2 separate regions of the Homo sapiens genome follow, and region 1 is linked to region 2. The links are contacts of gene promoters, found by promoter capture Hi-C in blood cells and fetal thymus (Javierre and others, 2016). All regions are on one chromosome and are shown on one strand. Each heading gives the region's core, a stretch centred on a gene start or on the middle of the fragment in contact. The rest is flanking DNA. Distances are from core to core; before and after follow the strand shown.

Region 1 (5,282 bases), core at 43-2,542, 490 kb after region 2:
CATTGATGGACATGTGAGTTGTTTCCACCTTTTGGCAATTGTAAATAGTGCTGCTAGGAGCACTTTGGTACAAATTTTTGTGTGCATGTGTGTTTTCATTTCTCTTGAGTATATATATATATATATTAGGGAGCAGAATTGCTGGGTCAAATGGTAACTCTATGTTTAACCTTCAGAAGAACTGCCAGGCTGTCTTTCAAAGTGCCTCTGCCCAGCTTTTTAAATGTTGCTATTTCTTTTTTCTTTTTAACTACCATTGATATTTTCCAAATTTCCACTTCTAGCTCAGATTCCCCTCTGAGCTGCCTATGAACATCTCCACCTGGGCGTCCCACAGACTCTTCAACCTAACATTGCAAAATGGAAAGTATCATCTCCTCCCTGCCCCATACTCTGTTCCCTCCTCCTCCCATGTTGTCTATCCCAGCATATGTTACAGTAGTGTAGCCAGTTGCCCAAAGGCCAGACAGATACTAGATTCTTGCCCCTTCCTCATTCTCCACATCCAATTCATTACTAAAAACTCTAAAGGTTCTGTCTTCCTAATAATTCTCCAGGGCCGGGGGCGGTGGCTCACGCCTGTAATCCCAGCATTTTGGGAGACCGAGGAGGGCAGATCACCTGAGGTTGGAAGTTCGAGACCAGCCTGACCAACACAGAGAAACCCCGTCTCTACTAAAAATACAAATTTAGCCGAACGTGGTGGCACGTGCCTGTAATCTTAGCTACTTGGGAGGCTGAGGCAGGAGAATCACTTGAACCCAGGAGGCAGAGGTTGTGGTGAGCTGAAATCGCGCCATTGCACTCCAGCCTGGGCAACAAGAGCGAAACTCCATTTCAAAAAAATAAAAATAAAAAATAATTCTCCAATCCACCTACTCCTCTTCATGCCCATTTGCCACTGCTCCAATTAAGGTCCCGTTTTGCCCGAAATAATAGTGTTCCATCTAACCTCTAATCTTACTATCCCTCCAAACCTTTCTAAATGTTATTGCTATTGTGATAAGTCACTTTCCTGCTCAAAATTCTTCAGTAACATGCACCAGACGATGGGATGAAATTTACCTTCTTTGCCTGATACGGTAACACATAAAGCTTCAGCAATATCGAATTTGGTATGCTTTCTTATACTTCTGTGCCTTGCACATGCTGTTTCCTCGGCCTCAAGGACTCTCCCCATGCTTGTTCACTGAGAAAGTTTCTATTCATCCTGTAAAGTCCAGATCAAATGCTACCTCCTCTGTGCGGCCTTCTCTGACTTCCTCGGGTAGACTTGTCTTACTTCCTCCACATTTCCACTAAGTTTATACATACACTTCACTAGAGACATTATTATAATTGATGTTTATTTAACTATCTTCTTTTCCAGCTTGCAAGACACTTGAGGGCAGAGATTTTATCATTTCATCTCTGAATATCCAGCCTCTACTGCAGTATGTGGTATAAAGATACACACACACACAGAAGCAAGGAAAAAAAGTAAGCTTTATAGACTCTTTGATCATCTGCTGCTCTGGGCCAAGAATGTTAAACAGTTTGCATATTATCTCATTTAATCCTTATTTAACCCTCTACTTGGTATTTCTACCTTAAAAATGAGAAAACTCGGGCTCTATGAGGTTAGGTAACTTGCACAGTGTCACATATACAGTCAAAGACAGAGGCAAAGGTGAGAGAGAGAAAAAGAATTGAACTCCTCTAGGAGTAGTCTTTCCTTAAAAAGGCCCCAACCTGAATTTTCATCAACTCCATCTTGCCTTCAGACCCAAAGCCTCCAAATAGTGTCTTATGTACAGACCATAGTCATCTACATCCACCCTCTAAGAAAGAAAAGAAAAGTTTCTAAGGAAGAAACTTTATGTCTCAGAAATGCCACCTTTCTATGTAACTTGCCTCCATCTTCTCTACCTAAGACTTCAACTGGGCCCATCGCAGCCATCTCCATTCCTCCCTGTTGGGAGCTTGAAACCTTCCCAGCTGTCTTGACCCTTCTATGGCCCAAGCCTTTCACTTGAATTGATCTACGACAAGCTGGGAGTTTTTGAAAAGAACTTTTCTCAGAAGTTGAGGGGAACACAACAATTTTTTAAGAATTACAAAACCCTAGAAATAAATGAGTTTACAGAAGACATTTATTTTCCTAATGGATCTCAGATCTTTCCACTGATGGATTTGGCCGGCAGATTATAGGGCATTCAATCCCCATTCCTATTCTTGGCCTCAGCCCTGTCTGAATTGGATGCTTGACCATGCTATTCAGACTCATTGCCTGGAAAGTTTGGGTTTGTGCCACCATTAGGGCTGGTGGGATTCTCTGTCCTTTCCAGAATCCGCTTTATTAATTTGGCTTTGCAGTGGGGAGGGGTGAAGGGAGATGGGGGACATTGCCAGATTACCTCCTTGCCCTGGGAAACTCTATACTTGTCCTGAGTATCTTTTCTGTCCCCTGAGAGAACTACCCTGGTTCCTGGTCCCAGAGTAAGGAATATACTCCTTTATCTACCCCAAAAGTGGCCTTTCTTGCACTTCAAGTAGCCTAGCAGATGTTTCCGTAACTCCTCTTAGATGCCTCTAGGCTCTGGTCTCTGAAAAGCCCACCTTCACTCCAGCCTGTTTCTCTTGGTCCCCTTAGGTTTTCCTGAAGCGTATCTGGTAGACACCTCCTGCGGAGGTGCCACCCCTATGGCAGTCACTGCTGATTTTCTATCCAGTAGACCTGTCCCTGCTCCATCACTTATTGTTCCAGGGTTTAAAAATCTCTTACAACTCGGTCCAAACAACTTCACTCTCCAAGGAATTTTAAACCGGCAGCGGGAGACACAAAGTGTGGCAGCCAGTCATTGAAGCTGGGTCTCATGAGTAGCAGTGCTTTAATGAGGAGGGGCCACCAACTGCCACTGTTTAGATCTACAAAGCAGTCCTGGTTCCTGTCTTTCCTGAGGGTAACTCTTCCTTCAGTTGCTTGCAACCCAAAGAGCCTTCGATAATGGTATCTAACGAATTAGACATTAGGACTAGTTCTACCCTTCTGTGACACACACAGCTGTTATTGTAGGCCTGAAATTACAAATTGCTTTCATTTTCCATGTCAATGCCTAGTGTACTCAGTTAAGAAGGACTTCAAAGTAGCGTCAGCACTGAAATTGGGGTGCAATGTCCACCAGGGACAGAGGAGTGAGAAGCGGCATTATGTTTGCCAAGTATTTGCAGACCCTATCTGGGCTAACACCTGAGACTATTCTCTCTAGTAACCTATGTGGCCTCTTTCTGAAGCCTGTTTGTCTACGTAGTTCACTAACTCTGTGACCTTGGACAAATTTCTTCCCTTCTCTGAATGCCGGTTCCTTGAGTATAAAACAAAGAGGTTGGGTCAGATGATCTCGAGGTCCTTTCTAGCTCTATGACTCAGGTCAGCCCCCTTCAAAGGGCAGTAGCAGACTCCCTGTCGCTTCCTGTTTCAAAACTCCCTCCCCTCCCCCTTTACAGCACTCACTGAATTCCAGTGTCATGTTTGAGGGACACCTTCAGTTCTCAGACCATTGGCAGAGTACAGTGGATTGACAGGCCTGGAGCCCAGTGAATCATCAGGCCTTTCCTAGTTCAGGTTACGAACTCCACCCACTTCCCCTGGGTTTCTCTGATGATTCATTCAGGTGCCCCTCTCCTATCCTTGGGAATGACCTTCCAGAATTTTATCTCTCCAGTTTTGCAATAGACAAATACTTCACATGCTGACTTATGGTAAGAGACAATATCCATCAGCAGTAAAAGGGTTGCTTTCTCACGCCCTCCCTCCTCGGCCCCCACCACCATCATCCAAACCATGCGCCTCCCCAGTCAGGCTCTCACTGGCCCTCTCTTTGCTGTCTGTCTTCAGACTCAGTCCTGCATTCCCCGGGATTTCCTCTCCCAAGGCCCAAGTGCCTGCACCTCACCGCTTTCCCCTCATTAGGCTCTGGTCTTCCGTGGCAACGCGGCCTTTACCTTTTCCCCACCCTGCCACCCCACTCCAGTCTCATTGCCCCCTTCACGGGCCTCTCCCTCTGCAGCTGCTGCAGTCTGAATAAGCACAACAAAAAAATTACCACATGTATTAAAGCGAAGCTCTTGTTGGACAACTGCAGATTTCCCTGGGCAGGATTTCAGTTTGATTTTCTCAGGGTTCCTATGAAGCCGGAGTTCCTGCCCAGACCCACCCCACCCCCGCCCCAGATGTCTGGGCCTGTAGGGAACCAGAGCCCTTCGCTTCTCTGGCCAGTCCTGGAAGACCAGACCCCCTTCCCACCCGGAACTTCCTTGTCCACCAGTCAGGGTCCCAAGGAACAGAGAGGGCAGAGGAAAGTCAGCCAAATGGGGCAGAGAGCCTGCAGTCCGCTCCTTAGGGAAGTTTAACTCAGAACTGAGGGCCTGAGGGCAGAGATCCAAGCCCCCCCTCACTGAAGCAGAAACCAATCTTGCAAATAAACATATAAACAGATTACCAGTGAGTTAGGAAGGGCTGCTAAGGGGCTGGAGAGCTAAGCTGTCCATGGCCCCACCCCTGGCACTTCCCCCAAGGAAGAGGGATTGAGTCTCCAAAGCCTAGGCCCCACCCAGCCTCTCAGTTGCTGAGCTTGGCCAGGCTGGGGCCTCTTCATTCACTGTTGCCCCTTTCTCCCTGGCCTCTCCACCCAGAATCCCACTCCAACTCTTTTTGCTTCAGAAGGCTGCGCTCCTGCCCATCTCTTCTGTGCACCCCTGCCATCTCTTGCCAGGTTTTCACCATCCCCAGCCACATTCTCTATATCCCCAAGCACATTTGCCACCGTGCGCCTCCCTCTCAAGTGCTCACTAGGAACCTTGAAAATGGCCACAGATAACACTCACTTCATCCCCCTCCTCACTTTTACTCTTTCAGAAGACCAGGCAGACCCTTCTATTTAAGTTGTCTGGGCCTCAGCTTGTCCCAAAATGCTAAGAGCCTTGCCCACACCCACAGGCACCCCTGCGAAGTATCTGTGTGTTACGGAGCAGAACTGTGGTGCCCAGGCTCTGGGCCTCAGCAAGATTTTCCCAGTTTGTTCCTTCCTGTGGTTGCTCCTTTCTGTCACTCCCATCATAACCATTAGGGAATGGTTCCAAGCATTCAGATGCTGAGAGGGCCCAAGGGGAACCTGGCAACAGGCCAGAATGCTCTGCTGGAGGTCAGGTTGCCCATGCAGGTCACAGCCTCTAGCCTTGGCCAGAGGGAAAGAATACTGTCCCTGGACCAGGCTGCAAGTTCCACAGGTCTGTTTAAGCTC
Region 2 (4,735 bases), core at 1,261-3,760:
CACCTCCCAGCACTCTGCGTTCTTCTTACTCTGCTCAAATGTTTTTTCCCCGTAGGTTTTATCACCTTAGAATGCACTATAGAATTAGTTAATTAATTAATTTCTATCATTTGTCTTCCTCCACCAGAATATAAACTTCACAAAAGCATGATTTTTTTTTAGTTTGTTTTGCTGCCCAGAAGAGTGCCTGGCATATATTATGTCCTCATAATAATTAGATGTTGTGTTAAGACACCCTTCCAGTCTTCCACCCTTCCAGTCTTCCACCCTTCCATGTATTTGGCCCATAGGACACACCTGGCTGGACTTGGTATCTTTCACACTCGCATATCTCCCATCACACACAGACTTGGAGGTGCCACCTACTAATGTGCATATATAAATATGTGTTGACAACTAGATACGTATTTCCCTTTGTACATATATACTCACAGGCAAAGACCACATGTGCACATGTATGTGCATGAAAAAAATCATATTTGTAAAATTTCTTCTTTTTTTGTTTGTTTGAGACAGAGTCTTGCTCTGTTGCCCAGGCTGGAGTGCAGTGGCATGATCTCAGCTTACTGCAACCTCTGCCTCCCGGGTTCAAGTGATTCTCATGCCTCATCCTCCAGAGTAGTTGGGATTATAGGCACACGCCACCATGTCCGGCTAATTTTTTGTATTTTTAGTAGAGATGGGGTGTCGCCATATTGGCCAGGCTGGTCTCGAATTCCTGGCCTCATGTGATCCACCCACCTTGGCCTCCCAAAATGCTGGGATTACAGGAGCGAGCCACTACTTTTTTTTTTTGAGACAGAGTTTTGCTCCCGTTGCCTAGGCTGGAGTGCAATGGTGCGATCTCAGCTCACCACAGCTTCCATCTCCTGGGTTCAAGCGATTCTCCTGCCTCAGCCTCCTGAGTAGCTGGGATTACAGGCATGTGCCACCACGCCCGGCTAATTGTGTATTTTTCAGTAGAGATGGGGTTTCTCCATGTTGGTCAGGCTGGTTTCGAACTCCCGACCTCAGGTGATCTGCCTGCCTCGGCCTCCCAAAGTATGACCTTGAGGGAACTCTTTTTTCAAAATTCTATTATAAAAAAATTCAAACCTACCGAGTAGTTGAAAGAATTGTACAGTGAATACCCACCACCTAGATTGTACAGATAATATTTTATGTTATCTGTACAGAAATATAAAATATAAAATATTAAAATATAAAAATATATTTAATATATTATATATAAATATTAATATATAAAAATATATTAAAATATAAAAAATATTAAAATATTAAAAATATAAAATATTTATATATTTTACTAGATTTAATAAATCAATCTTTGTTTGATTTATTACATATTTATCCATCAGTACATCCCTGTATCCATCCATCAATATATTTTACATGCATTTCAAAGTAAATTGCAGACATCAGCACTCTTTTTTGTTTTGTTTTTTTAGAGACAGTGTCTCACTCTGTCATCCAGGCTGGAGTGCAGTGGCACGGTCATAGCTCACTGTAATCTCTAATTCCTGGCCTCAAGTGATCCTCCTGCCTTGGCCTCCCAAAGTGCTGGGATTACAGGTGTGAGCTACCATGCCCAGCCTAGTATTCTTCACCCCTAAACACTTCAGAATTAATGAGAGTTCAACTTTTTTTTTTTACTTTCGAGGTAAAATCCACAGGCAGTGAAACGTACACATTTTAAGTGTATACTCACTGAGTAATGAGGTTTTGATCTGTGTAACTCACAGTCCTATCAAGACAGAGAACGTCACTGTTACCCCTAAAGGTTTCCATCATGCCCCTTCCTAGTCAATCCCCAAGCACAGGTAACCACTGCTGTGATTTGTTTCACTATAGATTGGTTTTGCCTATTCTAAAATTTCATGTACACAGAATAATATACACCAATATTTGTTTCTTCATTCAATAATAGGTTTATTCAGTACCTATGATAGCTCACAGACATACATGTGATGTCTCTTCAATGTGAGTAATGAGTTCTCCCAGACTGACTAAAAGGCTGAAGGTATTTCTAAGGCCTTGCCTGTGACCTCCTTCCCTCTGCCCTCCAATCCCATTGTCACTGAGAGACCATAGACAGTTGGGCCTCAGAAACAGAAATGCAAGCCCTGTGTCCCATTTGAGCCCTGGGCTCCTTCCTGCCCATCACTCTCCACCATCCAGACTGGCCCTGGAGGCCTCTTGTCAGCTGCACGCCCACACTAACTTTCACACCAGGGTTTCATCACATTTCTCTAGCCAAGTGCGCAAAGGAGTGTCACAATCTCAGTCCAGGCAATACCCAAGTGGGTAAAAGTACAGGTGAGTGGGCAGCTGGAAGGAACTGGATAAGCAGAGGCATTATATGGTCCTGTAATTCTGTGGAGGGGTGGTACAGGGGCGGAGGCTAGCCAGAGGCTGGGGAAGAAAACATTAAGAGAGGAAACATCACAGACTCCTGAGCAATCAGGGCTGGGCAGCTGAACAGTGCTTACCTGGAGCCACTGGGACGCTGGGCACAATGCTCTTGCCCTCTAAGAAGGACCTCAAGACTGCCCTGGATGTCTTTGCTGTTTTCCAGTGGTCCTTCAGTGCCTTGCTTATCAGTGAGTCTTCAGCCTTTGGTAGGGTGACCAACCATCCTGGCTTGCCTGAGACTGAAGGATTTTAGGGTTGCAGGATGTTCAATGGTCAAACTAGGGTTGTTCCAGTAAAACCAGGAAGGTTGGTAACACCAGCCTCTGGCCTGACCCACCTGGCCATGGTATTTGTGGGATCTGTGAGTGTCCCTGTGGGCATGTGTGTGTGCATATGGGTGTGTGCCTATGCAGGGGTGTGTATATGCACGTCTATGCACATGGACTTTGCTGCAGGTGTGAGCCCTTCTCGGTCTACATTGGGGTGTAGAGGGCATTCTTTGGGAAGATGAGGAGCAGTTCCACTGAGGCTAGCCAAGGAAAAGGGCTTGGCTGCAATCACAGGGACTCAAGCAAACCACCAATTAGAGATAGTTGGGTCAGGTGGCAGACCGAGGCTCTGGAAACCTCATCCTGAGGAATTCGACAATTTATCCATCCATGTCTTCCAACGCTTACACTACAAACACTTTGTGAAAGTTATTTCTATGCTGGCCACTGTGTTCTAAATGCTGAAACAAATCATCACTGTGGGAAGGGGTCCTGGAAAACATTCTTGCCTTTCCAGTGGTTCAGGTGAGTACTGGCTGGAGTCAGGGAAATGAATTAAGTGACCTTGCAAGCTATCTAGGAATAAAGAATGCAGATAGGCCTTGGTGCACAGAGCTGGCACAGAGGCACGCCAGTGAATAGGAAGGGTGGGCATTCCTTACCTCACCTCACCTGTTTTCAAATTCCAGTTCTACTACTTACTATCTGTGTAATTCTTAGCAAGGTATTTATCCTTTCTGAGTCTTGTTTTCCTCATTTGCAAAGTGGGAGCATTCAGGGTGTATTAATCAGGATGGTCTAGGTATGCCGTGCTGATAAATTCACCCTGAAATCTCAGTGGCTTAACCCAGCAAATGTTTATTTCTTGTTCATGCTGAATGTCCAACATAGGTTGGTGGGAGTCACCGCTCACTGTGGACATTGATATTCAGGCTGACGGAGGCACCACCAAATTGTGTCGCTGCAAAATGGGGCTTGAGGGATTACCACAGCATGGGAGGGAAAGTGAATGGAGAACTCATTCACAGTCCTTACTACCTCCACCCAGAAGTGATAGGCAAGAAACCATGAGCTGTCGCCTCATTTTGAACGTCCTTAATTACTGATGAGTTTGAGCATCTTTTCATGTTTATCAGCAATTAGTATTTCTTTTTCTGTTAACTGCCCATTTATGACCTCTGCCCATTTTTCTCTTGAATTTGAGTTGACTCTTGAAGGACAAATAGGAAATAGGTGAAGAAAGGAAGAGCATTTGGGGCAGAGAGTGGGCAACACATGGAAAAGCTAGGATGGCAAAGGGCACATAATGCATTCAAGGAGCTGCCAGTGGTTAAGTGAGGTGGAGGGTGAGAAGCACAGAATTGGTGCTCGATATATATTTATTGAATGAATGAATGAACAAACAAGAGAGGGAAGAAGGAAGAGACTGGAGAAACAGGCAGGGGACAGATTGTGTAGGGCTTTGTAAACCATGGGAAGGAGTTTGGACTTTTTTTGAGAGCCATGTGGAGCCATGAGGGAGACTGACACAGGGTGATGGCATCAGAGATTACTCTAGCTCTGTGAAGTCAACTGATTATAGGAAGATAGAAGTGGAAGGGGCAATGCCAGGTAGGAGGCTGTTGCAATAATCCAGATGGCGGTAATTTGGACCAGGCCGGTAGTGATGGTGATGCAGAGAAGAGGAAAGAAGAGGGGAGATTCAAGAAATTGGAGTAGAATGAATAGGACTTGAAGATGGGGGGTGGGGGCACGGGAGAAATGGAGGAAGCAAGACTGAGGGATCAGGTCCCAGTGTGAGCTGGCAGGGGGGCAGGTGGGGCAGAGAAGGGTTAAGGAGGAGAGTGGCTGAAAGGGGATGAGTCCAGGGACAAAATGGACTCAGAGGACTCTTAACTGGAGTTTGACTTCGGGGTATACTAAGAGGTACAGAGAGGGCAGGCAGAAGAGCTCTCGGTCCTGGCAGCAGATATGGGCTGCAGGCGTTTGCCCCTTCCTCACTAGTTCACATAGGGCAAGTGGGGCAATGGCCCTTCGGAGGCCTCTCAGCTCTT

What was found. The method cuts DNA at HindIII sites, captures the fragments that hold promoters and counts their contacts. A CHiCAGO score of 5 or more calls a contact.
Region 1: a fragment that was not itself captured here is called in contact with the fragment with the promoter of AWAT2 in region 2 in 1 of 17 cell types (naive B cells); the score reaches 5.8 in naive B cells.

Annotation. Positions count from the first base shown.
Region 1 is chrX:69,554,826-69,560,107 of GRCh38, reverse strand. No RefSeq gene overlaps it. Among named protein-coding and RNA genes, the nearest start is that of NALF2, 53 kb to the right of the region's middle. The HindIII fragment of the contact is 389 bases long and covers 1,098-1,486 here.
Region 2 is chrX:70,047,713-70,052,447 of GRCh38, reverse strand. AWAT2 (acyl-CoA wax alcohol acyltransferase 2) reads left to right here and starts at 2,510. Exons shown (of 8, transcript NM_001002254.1): 1 at 2,510-2,600. The coding sequence starts at 2,516. The HindIII fragment of the contact is 8,371 bases long and covers 1-4,735 here.